Linked DNA regions of Homo sapiens: all the other regions are linked to region 2. The links are contacts of gene promoters, found by promoter capture Hi-C in blood cells and fetal thymus (Javierre and others, 2016). All regions are on one chromosome and are shown on one strand. The core of a region is centred on a gene start or on the middle of the fragment in contact, and the rest is flanking DNA. Distances in the headings are between cores, read along the strand shown. Region 1 has its middle 23 kb from the start of RNGTT. Region 2 holds the start of RRAGD (Ras related GTP binding D). Region 3 has its middle 3.8 kb from the start of SRSF12.

Region 1 (3,915 bases), core at 544-3,043, 430 kb before region 2:
GGCAACATGGCGAAACGCATCTCTACAAAAAAATACAAAAATTAGCTGGGCATGGTGGCGCACACCAAGATCACGCCACTGTACTCCAGCCTGGGTGACAGAGTGAGAACCTGTCTCAAAAAGAAAAGCCAGGTTGAGGGAAGAAGGAAGTGGAACGAGCTTGGGATCACCTTAGAAAAAACAAGGAAATAAGAGTAATAAATCAAGGCAAATTAATGGCCAGGGAAAATCTTAAGTTTCTGGTGACATATTTCAATACTCCAGGTTTTGGTTCTATAGAATCATAATCTCAAATATCATTGACTCACTTCTAGAATGGATATCTTAAATTGGGCCCTAGTTTTAGGCTCATATAAAGCACATTCAAGTCTAGTCCATTCAATCTATTCAAACATCTACTAAACTTTCTCTGTGTGAGGAATTTCAGGAGATACAAAGATTAAGGCACATTCTTGAACCATAAAAAGCCTATTATTAGTAGGGAGGGCTTACTTTAATTATTCATGTATTGGTTCACTTAAAAATATAGTTTAGCACCTTGCTATGTGCCAAACACTATCCTAGGTAGACAAGAACAACAATGAACAAGACAAGGGCCCTGACCTCAAGGACTTTACTTGGCCAGTATAGAATACGGGAAAAATAGTGGGGCCGCTGCCCAAGTTACCAAAGAATCACAGTGAAGGGTATCTATCCCAATCCTGAAGAGTCAAAACACAGTTCCCAGGAGGAAGGGACATTTAAGCTGGGCCAAGTTAGGGTAGGGGAAGGGCCATAAATGCAAAGGCCTAGGGGCTATGGTGAGCTGGTAAATGTTTAATAACTCTCTAGAGAGAAGCAAGAATGCCCTAATTTGTAGATTTTGCCAGTTTCCTTGATTTACTCCCACCATGACCTCACTGAACATGCAATTGGGAAGAGACATGCACCATACGCTCTCACACTCCCACACAAATCAACTCTAGAACACCACTGCTTACAGATAAAAGTATGGTACTTCTGGGCAATGTCAAGCCCATCTATAGAATGGGAACTGTGTGTGTGTGTGTGTTTGGGGCAGTGAGCAGGGGAGGGAGTGGAGGTAGAAAAGGGAATGGTGGGAGGGAAGGCTAGGGAGGGAGGGAACATGCCCACATGCCACTTTAAAGAGTTTGGACTTTATCTGGGGCTGTGCAACTTCATCAAGTAAACATGAGTCACTGAGGTAAATATGGAGTCATTGAATGGTTTTAAGGAAGGGGGTGACCTTGTTGAGAGTGATACCTATTGTTTACAGCAATAGCCTATTTTTCCCTTCTAGAGAAAGAGGATTTTGTCTGTTTTCATCCCAGCCATATCTCCAGTCCTTAGAACACAGCCTGCCATAACGTGACCTCTCCACAAGAAACAAGAGACTGCTTCCAGTGCTCTGGAGTATGAATGAGAAGTCATGAAGTCAACCTAGAGAGTGGAGACAGTGAGTGAGATAATATCTATAGCAAAGGGAGCAAGGAACTAAAGCAGCCACTGTCAGCTAACTTGAAGTCAAAGGGTTGATTCAGGGATTTTTTAATATAAAAGAAATGTGGCCAGGCATGGTGTCTCATGCCTGTAATCTCAGCACTTTGGGAGGCTGAGGCAGGAGGACTGCTTGAGCTCAAGAGTTCTAGACCAGCCTGAGCAACATGGCGAGACCCTGTCTCTATTAAAAAACAAAAATAAATAAATAAAAGAAATAAGTCAGGTGCAGTGGCTCACACCTGTAATCCCAGGACTTTGGGAAGCCAAAGCGGGTGGATCACCTGAGGTTGGGAGCTCACGACCAGCCTGACCAACATGGAGAAACCCCATCTCTACTAAAAATACAAAATTAGCCAGGCATGGTGGCGCATGCCTGTAATCCCAGCTACTCGGGAGGCTGAGGCAGGAGAATCGCCTGAACCCAGGAGGCGGAGGTTGTGGTGAGCCGAGATCATGCTATTGCACTCCAGCCTGGGCAACAAGAGCGAAACTCCATCTCAAAAAAAAAAAAAAAGAAAAGAAATAAATATAAAAGAAATTTGATTACATTTAAGTGACTATGACAAAAAGCCAGTGGAGAAAAGAGGGAATAACTGATTAAACAAACTTTACTAATGCTTTAAAAATAATATTAAATGCATTTAAATAACTATATACCACACAATTTAATTAAAAAATAAATAGAAATTTAAACTACAATTTAATTAATATAAACAAATTTAATAAGATTAAGCACATTTTATTAAGGCTAAAAAGCCATGGAATTGCTTTGAGAGCAAGATCTTTGTCTGTTTTACTCACTGCTATATCCCCGGTACCTAGAACAATACCTGGAACATAGCAGATGCTCAACAAATATTTGCTGATTGAATGAATGTATGACTGGATAAAAGTAACCATTCATTGGGCACTTACTTTGTGCCAGGATCAAATGATTTTCATGCATATTATCCTCAATTCTCACAACAGCCTTAGGAGGTAAACGATTATTTTCATTTACTAATGAGGAAAGAGAACTTTAGTGAGATTTAGAAACTTGCTCATAATCACACAGCTACTGAGTGACAGACATGGAACTTATTCCAGGTCAATCTAAATCAAAGCTATGCTTTTAAGAGCAACTGTGATTTTAAGTGTCTGGATTTTTTTTTTTTTTTTTCTGAGACAGGGTCTTGCCTGTCGCCCAGGCTGGAGCGCCGTGGCTCATTCACAGCTCACTGCAGCCTCTACCTCCTGGGCTTAAGTGATCCTCCCACCTCAGCTTCCCCAGTAGCTGGGACTACAGGTGCATGCCAATGCACCCAGCTAGCTTTTTAAATTTTTTGTAGAGACAAGGTCTCACTATGTTTCCCAGGCTGGCCTCAAACTCCTGAGCTCAAGCCATCCTCCCATCTGGGCCTCCCAAAGTGCTAGGAGTACAGACAAGAGCCACCACACCTGGCCCTAGCGTTCAAATAGTTAAATATCTGAAGCAAAAACTGAAAATATTTGAGAAAGGAAAAGGAAAACTTTTGGTTCCTTGTGTCACCAGAATACATAGAATAGAGGAGCTAATTATAGAAAGAATAGCATAGCAGTTAAGCGTGTAGCCTGTGGAGCCACATGCCTGGGTTCAAATCCTAGCTCTAATGCTCACTAGCTGTGCAACTTCATCAAGTTACTTAACCTTTCTGTGCACTGGTTCCCTCCCCTATAAAATGGAGATAATGATAGCACCTACTTCATGGGATGGTTAGGAGAACTAAATGAGTTTATACATGTAAAGCACATGGAAAAAAAACCATTTTGTGTTTGCTGTGATTGTTATAGCCTATTTTTCCCTTCTAGAGAAAGAGGATTTTGTCTGTTTTCATCCCAGCCGTATCTCCAGTCCTTATAACACAGACTGCCAAAATGGGGCTTCTCCACAAATGTTTATTTTTGTTTTTTTTTTAATGAGATAATTAGTAAAATGAATGTCCAGCATATGTGTGTGTGTGCTGCTCAGAAGATTCATTGAATCTGAAGATAAAAACATTAATTTTGCTCACAAATCATGTTATATCATACTTTTTTAAAAAATGTGATTAGCCACTATAAATCAACTAAAAATCTCTCTCTCTCTTTTTTTTTTTTTTTTTTTTTGAGATGGAGTCTCGCTCTGTCGCCCAGGCTGGAGTGTAGTGGTGCGATCTTGTCACACTGCAACCTCTGCTTCCCGAGTTCAAGCGATTCTCATGCCTCAGCCTCCCAAGAAGCTGGAATTACAGGCACATGCCACCACACCTGGCTAATCTTCATATTTTTAGTAGAGATAGGGTTTCACCATATTGGCCAAGCTGGCCTCAAACTCCTGGCCTCAAGTAATTCTCCCACCTTAGCCTCCCAAAGTGCTGGGATTATAGGTGTGAGCCACCGCACCTGGCACTGAAAGTA
Region 2 (3,721 bases), core at 881-3,380:
ATTTTAAAAGTGCCCACTTAAAGAACTGCAGAATAAACGAGGGGTCCAGTACTTTTTCTGGACCCTCCAGGCCTCAGGACAGTATCAAATTACAGGGCTTTCCCTCCTGGATATGGCCCCTCCGCCCCCCCACTTTTTTTCTTTTTTAAAAAAGAGAATCCCACACACACCCTACTGTGTCCACCATTTCAAATACCTTGCAAATACATCCCTATTCTGCATCTCTCCGGAGTCTTCTAAGAATCTGGGAGGAGCTAACAAATGGAATTTGAATAATAATGAGGCGACTGAACAATTTAATTACGGAAGGTAGCTCTAGAGACTCCAATAAAACGGCTGAAAGCCTTTATCTACAAAAATGTGGCCTGGTGCTCAACGGTAAGACCAATTACCGGGAGTGCAGAAGACAGAAAGCACAAAGGTGCACACATCAGTTTAAGCAAATGAGGAATTAGCACAAATCATCCCAAGAGAGAAAACGCTATGAAAAAGGGTGACTTGAGAGGCTGCTTTCTCATCTACCAGGCGCAAGGCATAGTTAACTTTATTTCCTTTCTGATTCATTGAAAGTCGTGCCTGCCAGATGTAGAATAATGAAACTACCCTAGTGAGAAAAGCTTTGCATAGAGAATTTAAAATAAGTTCAGTGAATTCTCAATAAAAGTTCTTTAAAAATCAATAGTCACAAAGGTACTTGTATCTCTCACACAATTTCTTCAGTGTGAAACATTAAAGTTAGTTCCTTCTCTTGGATGCATACAGTTTCACTGAGAATAACATCATGTTTAACAGCCGCTTTCTATTGACCTTTCCAAGTGACCTTACAGTAAAGGAACTTTTGCTCGCTTCTGAGGGAAACTAAAAAAAGTTTAACCTCTCTGGAATACTAAAAGGCTCTCAACTTCCTTACACCTTAAGAAAATGCAGGAAGCCCCCACAAGCTGAACGATTGCTAAAACCCGCTTCTAGAACAGGAAAAAGAGTTTGCTTCACTATTGAAGCAAAGAATTCCCCGCCGCGCGCTCACTCCCGGGCAGGCACTGCCATGTCCAGGTGGTGATACCGAGAGCAGATAAGGTGTCCTGACAACGGTGTTTGCGTGGATCCCGGGAAATCTGCGGCCTCTCGGAGACTCCCACAACAGCTTGGCGAGCATCCCCCCGCCGCCCCGCGGGTCTCCCCAGCCACTACCTGGGTGGGCCCCTCCCGCGGCGACGCGGGGCGAGACTGACACCCGCAGCTGCCGACGACCCTGCCAGTCACGCCGCCGCCGGCTGCCTTTTTTTAGCCACGACATCTGACCCTGGCTTCAACAGCACCGTTCTGGGAGAGAGGTCCCAGGGCGCGCCCGCGGTCCCCTCCCCTCCCCAACCGCCAGACGCTGCGGAGAGCTTGGGGTGAGGGGCGCGGGAGGCACCGGCTCTGAAAGGGGCAGAAGCGCGCGCTCCTCCAGCCCAGACGCTTACTCCCTCCTTCCCCTTTTCCACCGATCCTGGTTGCCCCTCCGCCACCAGCACCGCGCTCCCTCATTTGGCAGCTCGAGGTCGGGCTTTTGGCGTCCCTCCCCACCCCAAACCCTCAACTGGACCCGCTCCCCTGGACCCCCTCCAAGTCGGTGGCTCGCGCACGGCCGGGCTGGGGGCGGGAAGGCGCCAAGGGGAGGAAAGGGGCGCGAGCCGAGGACGCGGGGGCCGGGCGCTCACCTCCCTCCTCTGTGCCGCTGTCCGGATCGGCGTCGGAGGAGTCGGGCCCGTCTCCGTAGTCCGCTAGCCCCACCAGCTCATCCTCCTCCTCCTCCTCCTCCGCGTCGTCCTCGTCCTGCGGCTGCGGCTTCCCCAGCACCTGGCTCATCGTGCCCACCGGCCGGCCGGCCCGGGGACGGCGGGGGTCCCGGGGTGGGGGCCAAGCCTCCTAGCCGGCCGCCCGCAGCCTATTTCTGAAGCGGAGGTTTGTCTAGAGCTCAGCGGGGCCCGGCGGAAGCGGGGGCCGCGCGTCCCCCGGCGGGCGGCGCCCAGGTCCGGGTCCCGCGGTTCCCAGCGCGCCCGAAGCCCCCTCCCCCGCCCCGCCCGCCGGCGGAGGAGTCAGCCGGAGCGCGGCAGTTCCTCCCGGAGGAGGGAGAGAGAGAGAGACTGCGTGACCCGAGTCACCTGACACACACTGTCACATACTCACATACACACCCCGCACGGGCGCGCGCGCGCTCGCCCGGCCGCGGGCACCACTCGGCGGGGCGCTGGGCCGAGGACACACATGCACACGCACACGCACACGCACGAGGAGACCGGGGAGGCGCGGGGCCCCTGCACCCTCCCAGACTCACACCGACACACGCCCCGTACACGGGGCCCCCGGGACGCCGGCCGTCACCCACCGCGGCTGCGCGCCAGGGGCCCCCACGCGCCTCTCCTTCACGTGGTCCCCGCACAGGCAGGGGAGGGGGCGCCGCACACCCTCAATGTCCCCCCCGCCGTCCCACTCCCACACGCCCGCAGAGCGTCTACCGTGGGCGGATGCCTCCTGCTTACAGTCCTGAGCTAGGGTCCCAAGCGGGTGGCCTCCCAACACTGTGGCGCCCAGATCCCCCACCCCAGAGCAGCGTGCCCAGGACACCCTGTGGACGCTCAAGAGCCCCAGGCGGAGAACTCAGATAAATGCACAGTGGAGGCGCAGTCTCCATAGCAATTGTCTTTTAGTGTGCCTTTATGGTTCAAAGTGCTTCCCACCAAGAATATTTAAAAAGCAGGCCTACCCAGACGTAAATGTTTCTGAAGAAATCACATGACTCGTGGCTGCTTAGACTAAATAATTCCTCTGCAGCCCTTTGGAAAAGGTCTCAGTGTATAACACACTCGGGGGCTATTCATGGCCACCTCCTCATGTCTCATTGTTGCATAGACTGTAATCCCACATGAATAAAATATTTCAAGGCTTTTGTGGGAGTAGGGGAGTGGCGGTGGTGGGGGGGCAATTCTCAAATAGGAATAGCAGCAACGTGGAGTGAGACTCTAAAACCTGCATTCCTCCTTCACAAGCTTTTCACCACGGAACACACTGTACCCACCCTTTCTGGGTACTGCAAAAAATTACGTGGATGAACTTCCTTCTGTGGAGCACAATAAGAAAAAACCGGCCGGTCAGCATGATGATCCAGCTCCTACAGGTGCCAGCAGCTCAGCCGGTGGTGCGGTGCAGAAGCGGAGGGAGGAAGCTAGGGCAGGAGACTCTCAGGGCCCAAGGGTGCTAACCTCCATAGGAAACATTTATTAACCACCTCCTATATGCCTGAGGCTGGGCTAAGTAGAGGGTCCAAGAATGCTCAGGGCAGTGTTCCTGCCCTGAAGGAGCTCACAGTCTACCAAATCATGACTCATGTCCTGGATTTTTTTTAGTATTTCTGAGTGCAGAAGGTGGATGCAGACACTTTCCAGAAGGTGGCTGCTTCTAATGGGAAAGGTCCTGAGATTTTCCAAGGGAGGCAGGCAGTATAATTTGGTATGACTGTATCAGTTAAGGTTCTTCCCAGGATGAAACAGACGGTATGTGCAAAGACTTTAACTGAAGCCTTCAAGTGAAGGAACAATTTACAGGGGTGTGGACAGAGTTTAGGGAATCAATGCAGGTATTAGCGATAGTGGGAAGATAACACCACCCCTAAATTTACAGGAGTGAGGAAGGGAGCTAGAGTCCTGGAGAGGGGCCACAAAACAGGAGCTGTAACTGA
Region 3 (3,723 bases), core at 467-2,966, 290 kb before region 2:
CGAAAGGGGTTTCCCCTTATAAAACCATCAGATCTCGTGAGACTTATTCACTACCAGGAGAACAGTATGGGGAACTGCCCCCATGATTCAGTTATCTCCCTCTAGGTCCCTCCCACAATACGTGGGAATTATGGGAGCTAACAATTCAAGATGAAATTTGGGTGGGGACAGAGCCAAATGATATCAGCCATCTATCCTATCCAGTTCTATCTCTTATAAGGACATTTGTCGTTGGATTTAGGGCCCACTTGGTTAATTCAGAATGATCTCATCTTGAAATCCTCACTTACATCTGCAAAGATTCTTTTTCCAGATAAGGATACATACCTGGAGATAGGACTTGGACATGTATTTTTGGGGGCCGCCATTCAAACCACTACATTGACTTTGCAAATAAAAAACTTGACCAAAGAAAAGAAACTTGACCTGGTGGGTAGTCACAATTACTCATCCCTGACATACTGTTAAGTGGAGAAAAATCAATTCATGAGACATGTAAACGATTAACCTATTTAGTTAAAAATATATTGGCCAGGCGTGGTGACTCATGCCTGTATCCTGGTGCTGTGGGAGGCCAAGTTGGGAAGATTGCTCCAAGCTAGAAGTTCGTGACCAGCTGGGCAACATAAGAGAATCTCCCCATCTCTACAGAAAATTAAAAAAAAAAAAATTAGCCAACCATGGTGGCACATGCTTGTAGTCCTAGCTGCTCAGGTGGCTGAGGCAAGAGGATTGCTTGAGCCCAGGAGTTGGAGGCTGCAGTGAACTATGTTTGTGCCAGTGCACTGCATTCCAGCATGAGTGACAGAGCAAGACCCTGTCTGTAAATAAATAAATAAATTTATCTGTATGTTCATGTATAAATAGAATTTTTCTATTCTATTTTTACCTATTCAGGTATAGGTATTATACTCTGATACTTGCTTTCTTCTTATCTTTTAGTATTGTCAGATTTTTTTAATGCTTTTTATAAATATAGAAAAAAACCACAAAGCTCTTTACAGTTTGAAAAAAGCTTTTGTAGGAGTATCCAAAAATACTTAGCATGCATGTATGGATAGGGGGTGTTTTTTCTGTTCCTTTTGATGGAAATACCTGAGGAAAGGGTCTTCAACTGTGTAAGGAGTTTCTCTTAGCAACTTGAACTTAAAAGGTAGCTGGAATTGATATAAAATAAGTTGTGGAGCCATAATTATTTATATTACATAAAAACGTATGTTCTTTTTTCCAGATATGATTTGAGGCAGCTAGTGTAAAGTGTAAGAAAGCTGTTTTCTGGTTGGAAGGCCTAAGGAGAGAACATCGTCGGGCACGGCCAACTAAGGAATGTTACAGTCAGCTTGGCCAGTGTCTTGCCCTGGTCCTTAAACCAGTTGAGATGAGTAACTGATGAAGCTGTATTTTGTCTTCCCTTTGGCAGATTAGGATACTTGAAGAGGTAGGGGAAAGGCTTAGGTCAAGAGTAAACACCCTGCCTGTCCCTGGACTCATAAACATATTCATATTTACCCTTTGTTCTAGAACTTAAGTGCCATTTAACAAAAGTATTGCTTTATTGAATCATTGCTTTAAGGCACCAAATGGTACCCTCCAGGCTTAGGAGAGTTAATGTTTTTCTTAAATTGCCTGAGGATTCCCAAGGAGTATACCACTGGCAAATCTGACAACTGTTCCCATAACAAAAGCCTCATTTTTACATGAGAGTTTCATATATTGTTCTTCGAAGTAACTGTTGCTTCCATTACTTTTTATTTAATACATTTAAAAAATTATGATCAATTAAATGCTTTTTAAGTTTTCACCTAAGAGAGACTTTGATTTGAAAATATTTTAGGAAAACCTGTGTCATATCTCATTTAGATATCATCACCTGACTTTTCAAAAGTAAATACATTTTAAACTTTTTCATTGGAATCACGGTTTTATAAAGTGTATTGCAAGAAAAATTCAGAATCTCTTTTCAGTTTTACAAGTCTTTAAAATTAGTAGTCTATGTTGTGTTTAAAATAGAGCCACATGTGAATCTATTTATAATGTTTGGTTGTTTACTCCTGAATCCTGTCTTTGGGGAAATTGCTGATATGACAATAACTTACTGTCATTTAGAATCTAAACACTTAGGACTTTCCTCTTATCTCTACCTACCTGCACATAGTCTGAGCTGACTATCTCTTACATTCTTTTTGTCTCTTAGAAACATCTATTCTGAATGGTACAGGAGAAGCACAAACCTCTCAATATCATCAGTAGATTTGTGGGAGAAGAGTTTGGGTTATTAGTAAAGTTCACAATTCAAGGCTGTCACTATTTCTTCCTAATTACCATGGATAATCAAGAAGTTGAGGCAGGTTTACAATGTTGAGCAATACATACGATATTTGTTATTCTAAAGCAATCTGATAGAGTATGTGGTTGAATAAGCTTTTCTTCCATTTCTTAAATGGCTCAGAATGGGCTAATTATCAGGTCTAATCAAGAAGTCAAATAGTAAAAGACTGATTAATATTTTAACTGCATTAAACAATACATCTGATTAATATCTTAATCAGATTAATTAACTAGTTTTGTTTATTACTGTCATAGTGGATAACTAGAACTAATTGAAAATTAAATTGTATTTAGGTAGGTATTAGTGTCTTGAAATTTGTGTGATTAAAAAGTACCTTGAAGAAACAGTGTCAGGATTAATGAAGTCAACAGAGAATATCATTTTATGTTGTGAACTCACTCTCCAACAGATGGTGCTAGCTTTCCTCTAGTGAGAGCTGCCATGGCCTATCCTTTCTTAAAACAAACCATGAAGAGTGATGTGGGGATTTGTATAGAACACATTGTAAACATTTTTCTATTACCTATGTACTTTGGTTTATAAGACATCATCATTCCACACAATCAGTTGGAGAATCTATGATTGTATCCTTTTATGAATTTGATCTCTTCTGCTATAGCCATAAGAAATCATGTTTTTAAAAAGGTCATTTGTGTGATAATAATGTAACTAGGAGGGATCAAACTAACTTTTTCAGAAAAGTCAACTTAGAAGGCCTGTCACTTTTCCTGTATATTCCCTAAAATGATGTTGGGTATTGAAAATCTTGGGGGGGTGTTTCTTTCTAATTAATTTGCCATTTGCTTAGTGTTGATCTATTGTATGTGAAGCACAGTGCTAGGAACTGGGGATGAAAATAGAAGTTATGCTCCTTAATTCTCAAGGACCTAGTCCATTGTTTCCCAAACTTAAGTCGTTTTCATCCATCCTGTGAGATTTTTGCCATAATGATGTACTTCTTTACCATAATATGTTTACTTTAAATTAGCTCACTTTTATTTAAAAAGAAAGCTCTATCACCAATATTAATTTTTAAAGTTTTATGGACAGAAGGAGAGCCAGGCACAGTTGCTCATGCCTGTAATCTCAGTGCTTTGGGAGGCTGAGACAGGAGGATTGCATAAGGGCAGGAGTTTGAGACTAGTCTGGGCAACATACGATACCTCATCTCTAATAAAAATAAAAACAAATTAGCTGGGCATGGTGGTGTGTGCCTGTAGTCCCAGCTACTCAGGAGGCTGGAGCACAAGAATCTCATGAACCCAAGAGGTGGAGGTTGCAGTGAGCTGAGATCGTGCCACTGCACTCCAGCCTAGGCAACAGAGTGAGACTGTCTCAAAAAAAAAAAAAAAAAAAGGTTTATAGACAGAAGGAGAGCCAGGCACAATGGCTCA

Evidence for each region. Contacts are between HindIII fragments. The CHiCAGO score rates a contact against its expected background, and 5 or more counts as called.
Region 1: a contact is called between a fragment that was not itself captured here and the fragment with the promoter of RRAGD in region 2, in 5 of 17 cell types (neutrophils, fetal thymus, naive B cells and 2 more). The highest score is 9.1, in neutrophils.
Region 3: a fragment that was not itself captured here is called in contact with the fragment with the promoter of RRAGD in region 2 in 1 of 17 cell types (fetal thymus); the score reaches 5.1 in fetal thymus.

What each region holds. Positions count from the first base shown.
Region 1 is chr6:88,984,954-88,988,868 of GRCh38, forward strand. No RefSeq gene overlaps it. Among named protein-coding and RNA genes, the nearest start is that of RNGTT, 23 kb to the left of the region's middle. The HindIII fragment of the contact is 4,992 bases long and covers 1-3,915 here.
Region 2 is chr6:89,410,143-89,413,863 of GRCh38, forward strand. RRAGD (Ras related GTP binding D) reads right to left here and starts at 2,131. Exons shown (of 7, transcript NM_021244.5): 1 at 1,704-2,131. The coding sequence starts at 1,851. RefSeq lists silencers at 1,088-1,187, 1,218-1,327, 1,358-2,547. The HindIII fragment of the contact is 2,415 bases long and covers 616-3,030 here.
Region 3 is chr6:89,120,054-89,123,776 of GRCh38, forward strand. It overlaps a transcript of PM20D2 not described here. Among named protein-coding and RNA genes, the nearest start is that of SRSF12, 3.8 kb to the left of the region's middle. RefSeq lists an enhancer at 2,722-2,851. The HindIII fragment of the contact is 1,406 bases long and covers 1,014-2,419 here.